2 separate regions of the Homo sapiens genome follow, and region 1 is linked to region 2. The links are contacts of gene promoters, found by promoter capture Hi-C in blood cells and fetal thymus (Javierre and others, 2016). All regions are on one chromosome and are shown on one strand. The core of a region is centred on a gene start or on the middle of the fragment in contact, and the rest is flanking DNA. Distances in the headings are between cores, read along the strand shown.

Region 1 (5,416 bases), core at 1,857-4,356, 130 kb after region 2:
TGCGGGGTTGCCTCCGCCGCCTTTGCTCCCAGACGCCACTCCGAGGCACAAGGACCCCAAGTCGCTCGGAACTGCCGGCCGCTAGATGACACCGGCTGCGCCGATGCAGAGCCTCGGGAGTCTCAGGGCACTACTTGTCCCAGCGGAGGGATCCTGCGTGCGTCGAAGCGACCGTGACCGCGCAGGGACTTGACGCCGCTGACGCCGGGCCGGCGGCGCAGCGACGCCGCAGGAGGCGGTGGCGGCGAGGGCGGGCGGGGGATGCGGGTCGGGAAGTAGTTCCGGGTGCGCGGCCCCGGATGTTGGCTGCTCTTGCTGCCGCCGCCGCTCTCGGGGCTGCTCGGGGCCTCGACCGCTCGCAGTAGGCACCGTTGGGACCTTTCCCGGGGGGGCGGAGACGCACGGAGCGGCCGGGGGCTCGGCCGGGCCGTCCCGGCCTGCGCAGCCTGAGGTAAGTGCCCCCCGCCAGGGCGGCCGGGCCTGGGCGGCGGGCGAGGAGGCGGGGCTGTGGCATCTCCCGGGACGGAGGCAGGGGCTGTCCTCCGCGAGACGCCCTCTCTCTTCCAGCCGCAGCCGCGTTGCGGGGTGGGCGGCGGGTGGGGCAGGGGGCCTGGGCCCCGGCTGGGGCCTGGCGGACGCCGAGGGCTGGGTCCTTCCCTCCCCCGCGGCGCTTCTCAGCTGCTGCTGCCCCTCAGCTGGGAAGCAGCGGCTTCGCGTCTCCCGCCCCTCCCCCAGGCGGGGCACCGGGGAACCAGACGTGGATCCCGGGGGCGCCTAGTCCGAGGGCAGCGACCGTCTCCTTCCCTCCATGACCTGTCCCTTGGCCTGGGCTAGCCCCCGACCCCGGCACTCTGCGGCTTCTTCCCTTTAAGCTTGGGGGCGCTTTTCTGCCGGCAGGGCGGGCTGTACCTCACGCCTTGGAGTGGCCCTTTGGGGAGAGGAGGCCCATGCGAGGGTGCTTGCGTTCCCGCCCATCCTGTGTCTGTGTCCTTTGCTGGGATTAGGGCAAAGGCAGCCGTTCCATGCGGACGTGTTGCTGTCCTGTGTGTGTTGCATCCTGCCCACGTGGTAGAGTGTCTCCCGCCCCCCCTCCCAGCTCCATTTTTGCAGCTGGTGAGGAGGGAGGTTAACGGGATGGTTTTTCCTCTGTGATTTCCTCCGGGTGGCGTGGAAGGTGTTAGGGTCAGTTTGCTTTGCCGAGGCCGGCTGTTGGTTAGATGAAGAATCGAGAGTTGTACTCTGAAATTGAGGCCAGTAGGGGACATAACAGGGCTTAGTTTCATTAACATCTTTTTTCCTCTTCCATTAGCTGCTCTTATTCTTTTCTCTGTTGCTTAATTATAGAGAATAAGCGCTTGCTACCGATGCATTCAGGTGTATAGTTTTCATTTCTCTGTTTTACTTTTTGTGTGTCTGGTTAGCAAAGGTTTTACTATTCCGTGTTGGTGCATTCCACGTCTGTGTTGTCCCTGGTTGGATTCCTGAATGAGTTAGAGCCATTCACTCTAATTCCTGAAGGAGTTAGAGATTGGTGGGCACCTTTTTGGTCTTTTTCTGAGATTTATTTGTGTGTGTTTTCTTCCTTCTATTTTGTTTCCCAGTGAAAAAGCGTGATGTCATAGGAGCGTTATATGCATAGCTCTTTTTCTCACAAGGCAGCACTAGTTTCACCTAGTCACTTATTTTGTAGAAGCTCTTTTACTTCACTTTTCCTCTTACTCTGTTGAGTACCCATTGCACACTCTTTTTTTGAAACTGGTTTGAAACATGGTTTGAGTAGTTTTTTTCTTAATGTCTCTTCCAGATTAGGGTTTCCATCTTCTGTTTTGCTGTTTTGAGACCACAGATTGTTCCCGCAATAACAGTGAGAGAAGCCTATTCCTCCTGGTCCCTAGCAAATATTTATAGAAAAGCAGTAACTCCTCTCTTTTTCTGAGTGGTATATATTATATAGACGTGATTAAGTTTTTTAGTTTCTTAGATAAATAGGAGGATTTCTCTTTTTGCTTTTGTGTCTCAGAATTGAGGTGAATCTTCTTGGTTTTGTGCTGCCGAGGACAAAACTGGGAAGTTTCTCATGCTTTCATTAGATTTTTTTTGGATGAGGCTAGAACGTGTTTATTTTGGCTCTTTTTTGTTCATTAGTTTGGGTAAAATAAAAAAACTTAATGTTTCAAAGTCACTTACTAGATTCCAAAGTGGCCTGCATTCTCACTTTTTCACATTGTACATTCTTTGAGTATATTTTTGACATTTTTTTCCTTTTATCTGGTACAGTTCGTATATTCCCTTTCCTTCTATGTAGAATGAAAATATTTAAATATAGATTTTAGATTATATTTTTTCATTATGCTAAGTATGGGTGGGGCAGTGGAAAATGGAGAATGTTGTTCTGATACATACTGAGGCTTTTTGTTTTTTTTTGGTAAGTCAGCATTTGTGTACTTCTGTAAAGTACCGAGTTATCTATGTGTGAAGTCTGTATGAAGAGACGAATAAGATACGTGGTCTCTTGGAAAGCTTCAACTTATATCGAAAGAACAGAGTTTCTTTTTCTGTTCGGGAAACATGTACATCATTCAGAATTATCAAACTGCATCAAACTTCTCCTTGGGATAACAGTACAACCAAGGTCAAAAGTGTAAGGGACATTTGAGAAAGATACAAATTTCCAAAGGGAAAGAGGTGTATTTCAGGAGAGTGAAGGGGCCTGTGCAAAGCGAGAGAAGTGGCAATGTACAAATGATATCAAGGAGCTTGACTGTCAGATCATCTGTGTTGGTGAATAATAATAAATGAGTTTAGGATTGGTGAGGGGGTATTGATGGAGGATCTTTCAAGGATAGAGGGTTTAGTTTGATAGGGTACCACAATGGGTTCTAAAGAATGAGAGTAAGATGATGCATCTTGTTCCTGAGGAAGGTTTTTGTTTCAGCTGAGTGTCCTGGGAGTGGAGAGACTGATTAGAGTGCTTATGGAGAATTTTAGGAATAAGCTGATGAGGGTCTGATATAAGATAGTGGTTGTAGGAATAAAATAATAGCTAACATTTACTTACTGTATGACAGGTATTCTAAGCGCCTACGTTTGTTTAATTCATTAAATCTTCATAATAAGGTATTAAAATCAGAAGGGACTTTGGGCAAGTTGCTTAACCTTATGCATGTAATTATTCCCATATACAATGAACGGTTAGATGAAAGGTAGATTTTGCACTGACCAGGGATATAGATGCTAGTAAAACACATCAGTAGATGTGTGTTGGGAGGGTAGTAGTATAATGAAGAAAGAGCTTTGAGGTTTGGAATTTTGGGTCTTGAAATAGGCTAATAGCATTCTGAGAAGAACCAGAAAGTGCATCATTTCCAGGATAGGAAGATTTTCTACAAGGGCAGGGTGTTGACAGTTTCAAATGCGGTGTAGAAGTTCAGAAACAGTGACTACAATGAAAAGACAATTGAATTAAAGCAGAAGAGATAATTTGTAAACTTAGAGAGAAAATTGAAAGGAGGGGTAAGAATAGATGCCAGATTTGTTTTTCACAGGATTTGTAGAGACATTAGTATCTGATATGGTAATTATTAGTATTTCCTTAAAAAAAGAAACAAACTTATGTTCCAAAGCCAGTGATTTTATACTTTAACGCTTCTCTCCTTAAACTTTTATTCTTTTTTTTTTTTAAAAAAGCTTTCTTGAAGTATAATTCACATACCATTTCATTCACACATTTAAAGTATACAAGTCAGTGGTTTTTAGTGTATTCACAGAGTTGTGCAACCATCACCACAGTCATTTTTAGGACAGCATTTCAAAAAAAAGCCTTGTACCCATTGGCAGTCACTCCCCGTACCCTCACCTCCAGGCAGCCACTAATGTACTTACAATCTTGTAGAGATGTTGATAATTCCAAATGCCTGTTGTGGGCATTTCATACAACATACGGTCTTTTGTGTCTGACTTCTTTCACTTGCATATGTTTCAAGGCCCATCCATGTAGCATGTATCAGTATTTCATTCCTTTTTATTGCCAAATAATATTCCACTGTATGTATATACTACGTTGATAGCCATTGCTTTAGTTGATGGACATTTGAGTTTCTTATTCTTTCATTATTATTATTATTATTTGAGACAGAGTTTCTCTCTGTCGCCTAGGCTGGAGTGCAGTGGCGCCATCTCGGCTCGCTGCAACCTCTGCCTCCCAGGTTCAAGCGATTCTCCCACCTCACCCTCCACAGTAGCTGGGATTACAGGCGTGCACCACCATGCCCCGCTAATTTCTGCGTTTTTAGTGGAGACGAGGTTTCACCATGTTGGCCAGGCTGGTCTTTGAACTCCTGACCTCAAGTGGTCTGCCTGCCTCGGCCTCCCAAAGTGCTGAGACTACAGGTGTAAGCCACCGCGCCTGGTCAAGTTTCTTAATTCTTTTAAACTCCTCCCCATTTTCATTGAATCTTCACCCTGCCAACCCCTCACATGGCCTTCTTTTAGATTATAACCTCTGCCATGCATTTTGCTAAGCATTGGGGATATAAAGATGAATAAGACATGGCCCTTGAACATTCATATAGTGTTTTATTGGTTTATATACATTTTCTCATACATTCTCTAATTTGATCTCAACAACCCTGTGATAAAGGCAGAATATCTTAAAGATGAGCAATTTGAAGTTTAGGTGACCTGCTTAGGGTTGTACACTTAAGTAATTGGTGGAGCAGGTAGGTCTTCTTAGTTCATATTTGTGCTATTTCCACTACTCTGTGCTGCTGTTTTAACTTAAAAATTCTCATGTAATTTCCTGGAGACTTAGAGGGACTGGAAAATGTACTGACTCAAAGAATCACTGTTTTTTTTTGTTTGTTTGTTTTGTTTTTGAGACAGGGTCTCACTCTTGCCCAGGCTGGAGTGCAGTGGCACGATCATGGCTCATTGCAACCTCAACCTCCTGGGCCCCAGTGATCCTCCCACCTCAGCCCCCTAAGTAGCTGGGACTACAGGTGCGCGCCACCATGCTCAGCTAATTTTTGTATTTTTTGTAGAGAAGTGGTTTCGCTATGTTGCCCAGGCTGGTCGCTAACTCCCGGGCTCAAGTGATCCGCCAACCCTGGCCTCCCAAAGCGCTAGGATTACAGGCGTGAGCCACTGCAGTCAGCCCACTGATTTTCTTCCGGACTTAAAATGAAGATTTTTTTCCCTAGATTCTGCCACTTGTTTGTTCTGTGTTTTAGACAAATCATTTCATATTTCTTTTCTTTCAGAACTTTCATGGAGTTCATGTGATGATAATGTAATGATAATAATAGCTAACATTTTTTGAAGCCTTACTATGGGCCTAAAAGTGTTCTAAGTACTCTACATTCATTATCCATATCTTACAACCCTTAATATTTTATAAATTTTATAAGTAGGTTTTATA
Region 2 (5,102 bases), core at 895-3,394:
TCGCGCCATTGCAATACAGCCTGGGCAACAAGAGTGAAATTCCGTCTCAAACAAAACAAAACAAAACAAAAACAAAAACAAAAAAAACTGTCCTAGAATGACAGGAATTTATTTTTTTTGAGACAGGGTCTCACTCTGTAGCCCAGGTTGGAGCGCAGTGGTGCGATCATAGCTCACTGCAGCCTCGATCTCCCAGGATCAAGTGATCCTCCCACCTCAGCCTCCAGAGTAGCCAGGCTACAGGAGTGCTCCACCATGCCTGGCTAATTTTTTGCATTTTTTGTAGAGTCAGGTTTTTGCCATGTTTGCCCAGGTTAAATTGTTTTTAAATTTATGCCTTGCTATTCAATAAATACATATTAGAAGAGGAAAGGAAAGGAAAGCCCCTTACAATATAGCATCTAACACTTTTTTCAAGAGTTAGGTTTTATCCAGTTCCAATTTAATGTGCAAGATTGAAAAGGCTGCAGAACTTGTTTTTGTTTTCCGATCTATTCTAGAGGAGAAAGCTGAATTTCTCAGTATTTAAAAACTTGACCTGGCTCTAAGCATGAGACATCACAAACGACTGCTTCTATTGGACTGAGAAATCAAAATATCCAAATCATTGTAGCCCCAAATAGCTGTTTAAAATGTGTATGTTCTGTATGTCCTCAAAATAGGTTTACTTTTAAACCTGAATACTGAAGAAGAAATAGTAAGATTCAACAAGGAATGCGTATTGTAAGACAAATTAAGTCAAGCTTTCCAAGCTAAAATAAAATTGCACTGGATCTAAATTAATCTTATGCCATATTTAAGGCCCTCTGTTCCAGCCTTTTTAGAACAATTGTGTCTGCTCCCTTGCCAAAAATATTTATTTTCAATCACTCCTTATTGTTTTCATTTATTGGCTTACATCACAAAGAATGTTTTCTGATTCAGAAATTGACAGGAAAAGAAGGCACAAGTACTATTTCAATCATCTCCTCTCCAGAAAATTACATCATATCCCCAGTGTTGGGTTCATATGGGCTTAAAGTTGAAATCCTGTCTTACATGATCACTTTGAATGCCCTTTTCACATTGATAAACACATCAATAAAATTTAATGAAACAAGGAACAACCTTCTTTCATTATGTAAGCCTGAAATGGGTCCAATACTGCAATTTTGATTTTTTTTTCCATTTTCAAAACACACTAGACCTACAGTATTTAATGTTTATATTTACCAATTTGCACTTCTCCTAGTCTCTAGTTTACCCAAGACTGAAAGGTTGCCATAGTGCAAAGAAAAACAGAAAATCTTCCCAATGACTGCAGAGCTGGAGAATGCGAAATACTTAGGTACGCAAAGCATTGTAGCAGGAAAGCAGAAGGAGGTGGTCTATAGATGACAGAGGTGGTGCAGACAAATGGACATTCAATAATGTGCAGCGTGAACAGGGAAAAGTTAAAATGGCTGTGAAATAAGCAGGATGAGAAAGCTGGTGCTTGGAGTGATGAGAGAAGTGGAAAAAGTTGTAGCTTGAAAGGCAGAAGGTAACTGACTTCATGACCTCTGATGTTGAGGATACAAAAGGCCTCCAAATCTTCATCGGGATTCAAGGTTCTGCATGACGAACATCGGCCAAAAAAAATCAGAAAACGGTAGTTCTTTGTTCGCGGGCCTACACGTAGGGGAAAGCTGCCCCTCCGTGGACTTCGTAGTGGCCTGGACCTTCGGGCGTTGTCTGTCCAGGGGCGCGTCTCGACACCTCACCTTTAAGTGAGAAAAGGAACGCCGACCTACCTCGCTGAGGATGTTCTAAGCCCGCTCTAATAATAAGCGGCAGCCTAATACTAAATGCTTGTGGCAGCTGGGTCCGGGGAAAACGGGCGAATTCTCCTTCAGGCGGAATCACTCCAGCCAGGGAATAGAAAGGCCGGGCCAGGAGGGGTTCCCCTCCTGTAGTTTCGGACCATACTGGGGAGAAGCAGAAAAGGCCCGTAATGCGGAAAAGAGGGGAGAATGGGTGCTTTCCTCCTTGGGGCTGAGGCAGGAACCTCAAGAACCAAGTCGGAAATTTTCCTGCGGAGGGTGCCGCGAGCGTCCCGGGGTCGCTCGGCCCCTACGCGCTCAGCTGCTAGCTGCAGGTGCCTACGGAGACCTGGGCGTCATAGCAACCGCGCTCGCCGCAGAGACGCAGACGCGTCCTTCCGGCGGGAACCATAGAGACGACGCACGCCAGTGGAACCAGAGACTGTGGTTCTTGTGGAGACTGTTATTATGTCTCACACCATTGGCCTTCGGGTCGGGGGCGGAGTTGTCCCGGCCGTATCGATAGTACAACTCATTCCATTGGCTTTGGAGACAGCTGTAACCATGGTAACATGTCGAGCGTTTGCGACTTAGCGAATACATTTTGTCTTGGGGCGTTCTAGCTCTCAAAGAACTTCCCGCCAGGACTCAGCTGGAGCCCCTGCCTACTAACCTTGGATTTATTTTTCTACAAGTTCCTTCATTCTTAAAGGGGCAGGAAGTGCTAGCTCAAGAGCTCTGAATTTTAGGCCTAGATCGTGTCACTAGCCACGTGGGGCACGTAAGATAAATCACAATTTTTGGATCCAGCTTATTATTGTAAAAAGGAAGAAACTGGGCTTGACTAGAATTGTCCCTAAGGCTGAAGCCCTTTAGAAGTCCTAAGCACTGAAAATTCAGGTAAGATGAACGTTATCTTCCCCACCTATGTAATGCAAAATAAAAACTTATAAATGACACAAAATTTAACATACTCAATTTATATCATCTTTTTAGATGCTCTTATTGCAAAATTCTAGTTAATTATCAAACTCGATTTTAGTCATGTTTTGGGGGCCCTTGCTTTGCTGGTATCCCAAACACAACATTTCTTGGTCTTACTCTAGTTCCCCAAGAGAATACTTCACAAATTTTTGCTGGTTCTACATGCATTATCCGGACGTATTTTACTCTTTATATAATAAAGTGCCTCAACCTCTCCTTCTGGCACTAGACCTCTTGCAAGTGTTTTTTTCTGAACTAAAAGGCTCACCACCAGCACTTGTAGCCCACTTCACTCCTGTTTATCAGTTTAAGTATCACCTACTCAGGGAGACATTCCTTGATCCTCCATCCAAGATCAGGTTCTTAGTTACCCTCATTGACTCATGTTCCTTTTCTTTATACACTTCCATTTGCTATTAAAACACACACACACACTCTCCCCCACCCCCCTGGAATTTTTACTTGTGTAAATAATCTAAGTGCTCTGAATATAAATTAAACTGAAGTGGAAAACACTAAATAATTTCATGTAGAACACTGATTGTTTTTAAGCGTTAACAAGACAGGATATAAAATTCCCAAGGGAGGTAATAATTATGGTAAAGACAAACATTAAGATCACTTCTACTTTTAACCCCATATATCCCCATTGTACATTCAAAGATGACAGTCATCATCCACATAAAGCTATGAATGCAGAGAAGAACATATTCTACTTCTTGCCCTTCAGTACTGCAGCCACTGACAGAGCCCACTGCTTTTGGGGTTTTGCAAATTGGACCTGAAGTTCACTTAAAATCATTGTCAAAGGAGCCTGGGTGGCTGGGCGCGGTGGCTCACGCTTGTAATGCCAGCACTTTGGAAGGCCGGGGCGGGCAGATCACGAGGTCAGGAGATGGAGAACATCCTGGCTAACAAGGTGAAACCCCATCTCTACTAAAAATGCAAAAATTAGCTGGGCGTGGTGGCGGGCGCCTGTAGTCCCAGCTACTAGGGAGGCTGAGGAAGGAGAATGGTGTGAACCCGGGAGGCAGAGCTTGCAGTGAGCCGAGATTGTGCCACTGCACTCCACCCAGGACGACAGAGCAAGACTCCGCTCAAAAAAAAAAAAAAAGAGCCTGGGTAACATAGTAAGACCTTGTCTCTATGAAAAATAAAATATTTAGCCAGGCATGGTGGCACACACCTGTAGTCTCAGCTGCTCAGAAGGCTGTGGCAGTAGGAGTGCTTGAGTCCAGGAGTTCAAGATTACAGTGAACCATGATTGGACCACTGCACTCCAACCTGGGTGACTAAGCATGACCTTGTCTCTAAGAAAATTTTTTTGTTCAAAGGGACTGCTGCTTCCAGAACAGTCTTGACTGCTGCAGTATTTTTCCTCTGTTCAAGGTCACATTTCCTGATTAATGAAGTATTTCAGTCTTAGAATTTCTGTCAAATCTTCTCAATTAAATTTATTGTACTTCTATTATCAGACAGACACAGGGGCTACCCTTCCCTACTCCATGAAACACCATGAATTGTATTTTAAGTCAAATATTTATGTGAAACACAGTACCTGCTTCTACCTTAGTCATCAATGCTAATTTTTCAAATTGCACCTGGACTATCCTACAGATCATTTAGGGAATTTTTTTGCACTATGCTACTTGTGCACTCCAAACCCAAAACGTAGGACAGCAAGAGAAGTATTGAAAGTTTTTCAAAGATTCTCAAGGATTCAAAGATTAAGCAGGGCAGTGGTGTAACACTGCTTTGCTAAGTGAGAAAAACAATAATTGCAACCATTTAGTGAGTGTGAATCAAATGCTAGGCACCAGACTGATGCTTTCTTTTTGCTATTTCATTTGATCCTCACAATAAATGGCATTACTTTGCAGAGAGATTATCCTCATTTTATGCATGTGGACACTGAGATTAAGTCAAATGCCTAAGTTTATAAAGCTAATAGGTGGCACAGCTGGCTAAGTTGACTTCTAGCCCATACTCTACCACACTGTAATGCATCCCTCAGGACAGAGATCACCAAGTGGCCCCTGCCTGGTCCCAGGTGGAAGGACATATTAAGTTAAACTGAAAAGCAGTCCTAAAATACTTGAAATGTAAACTATTACCCAAACATGAGGTGAATCTACAATAAGAAGCAAAAAGTAAATGCAGTGAAAAGCTCACCATTCTACAATCTATCTTCAGGGAGGTATCCTTCTTTCCTACTACTATATTTGATAAATTTCAAACAAAACAAAACATCCTTTCCATTGTGTCAGCTTTTGGACACACACTTTATTGCACTTGATTTTTTTATACATCCATTTCCTAAACAAGATATGTTTATTC

Evidence for each region. Contacts are between HindIII fragments. The CHiCAGO score rates a contact against its expected background, and 5 or more counts as called.
Region 1: a fragment that was not itself captured here is called in contact with the fragment with the promoter of CCDC30 in region 2 in 2 of 17 cell types (total CD8 T cells and naive CD4 T cells); the score reaches 5.9 in total CD8 T cells.

The regions. Positions count from the first base shown.
Region 1 is chr1:42,330,094-42,335,509 of GRCh38, reverse strand. FOXJ3 (forkhead box J3) reads left to right here and starts at 275. Exons shown (of 13, transcript NM_014947.5): 1 at 275-451. RefSeq lists a silencer at 239-758 and an enhancer at 343-1,300. The HindIII fragment of the contact is 1,167 bases long and covers 2,523-3,689 here.
Region 2 is chr1:42,460,328-42,465,429 of GRCh38, reverse strand. It overlaps CCDC30 (coiled-coil domain containing 30), which reads right to left and starts at 2,144. Exons shown (of 21, transcript NM_001395517.1): 1 at 1,532-2,144. It overlaps PPCS (phosphopantothenoylcysteine synthetase), which reads right to left. Exons shown (of 3, transcript NM_024664.4): 3 at 4,194-5,102. RefSeq lists a silencer at 2,198-2,247. The HindIII fragment of the contact is 5,104 bases long and covers 746-5,102 here.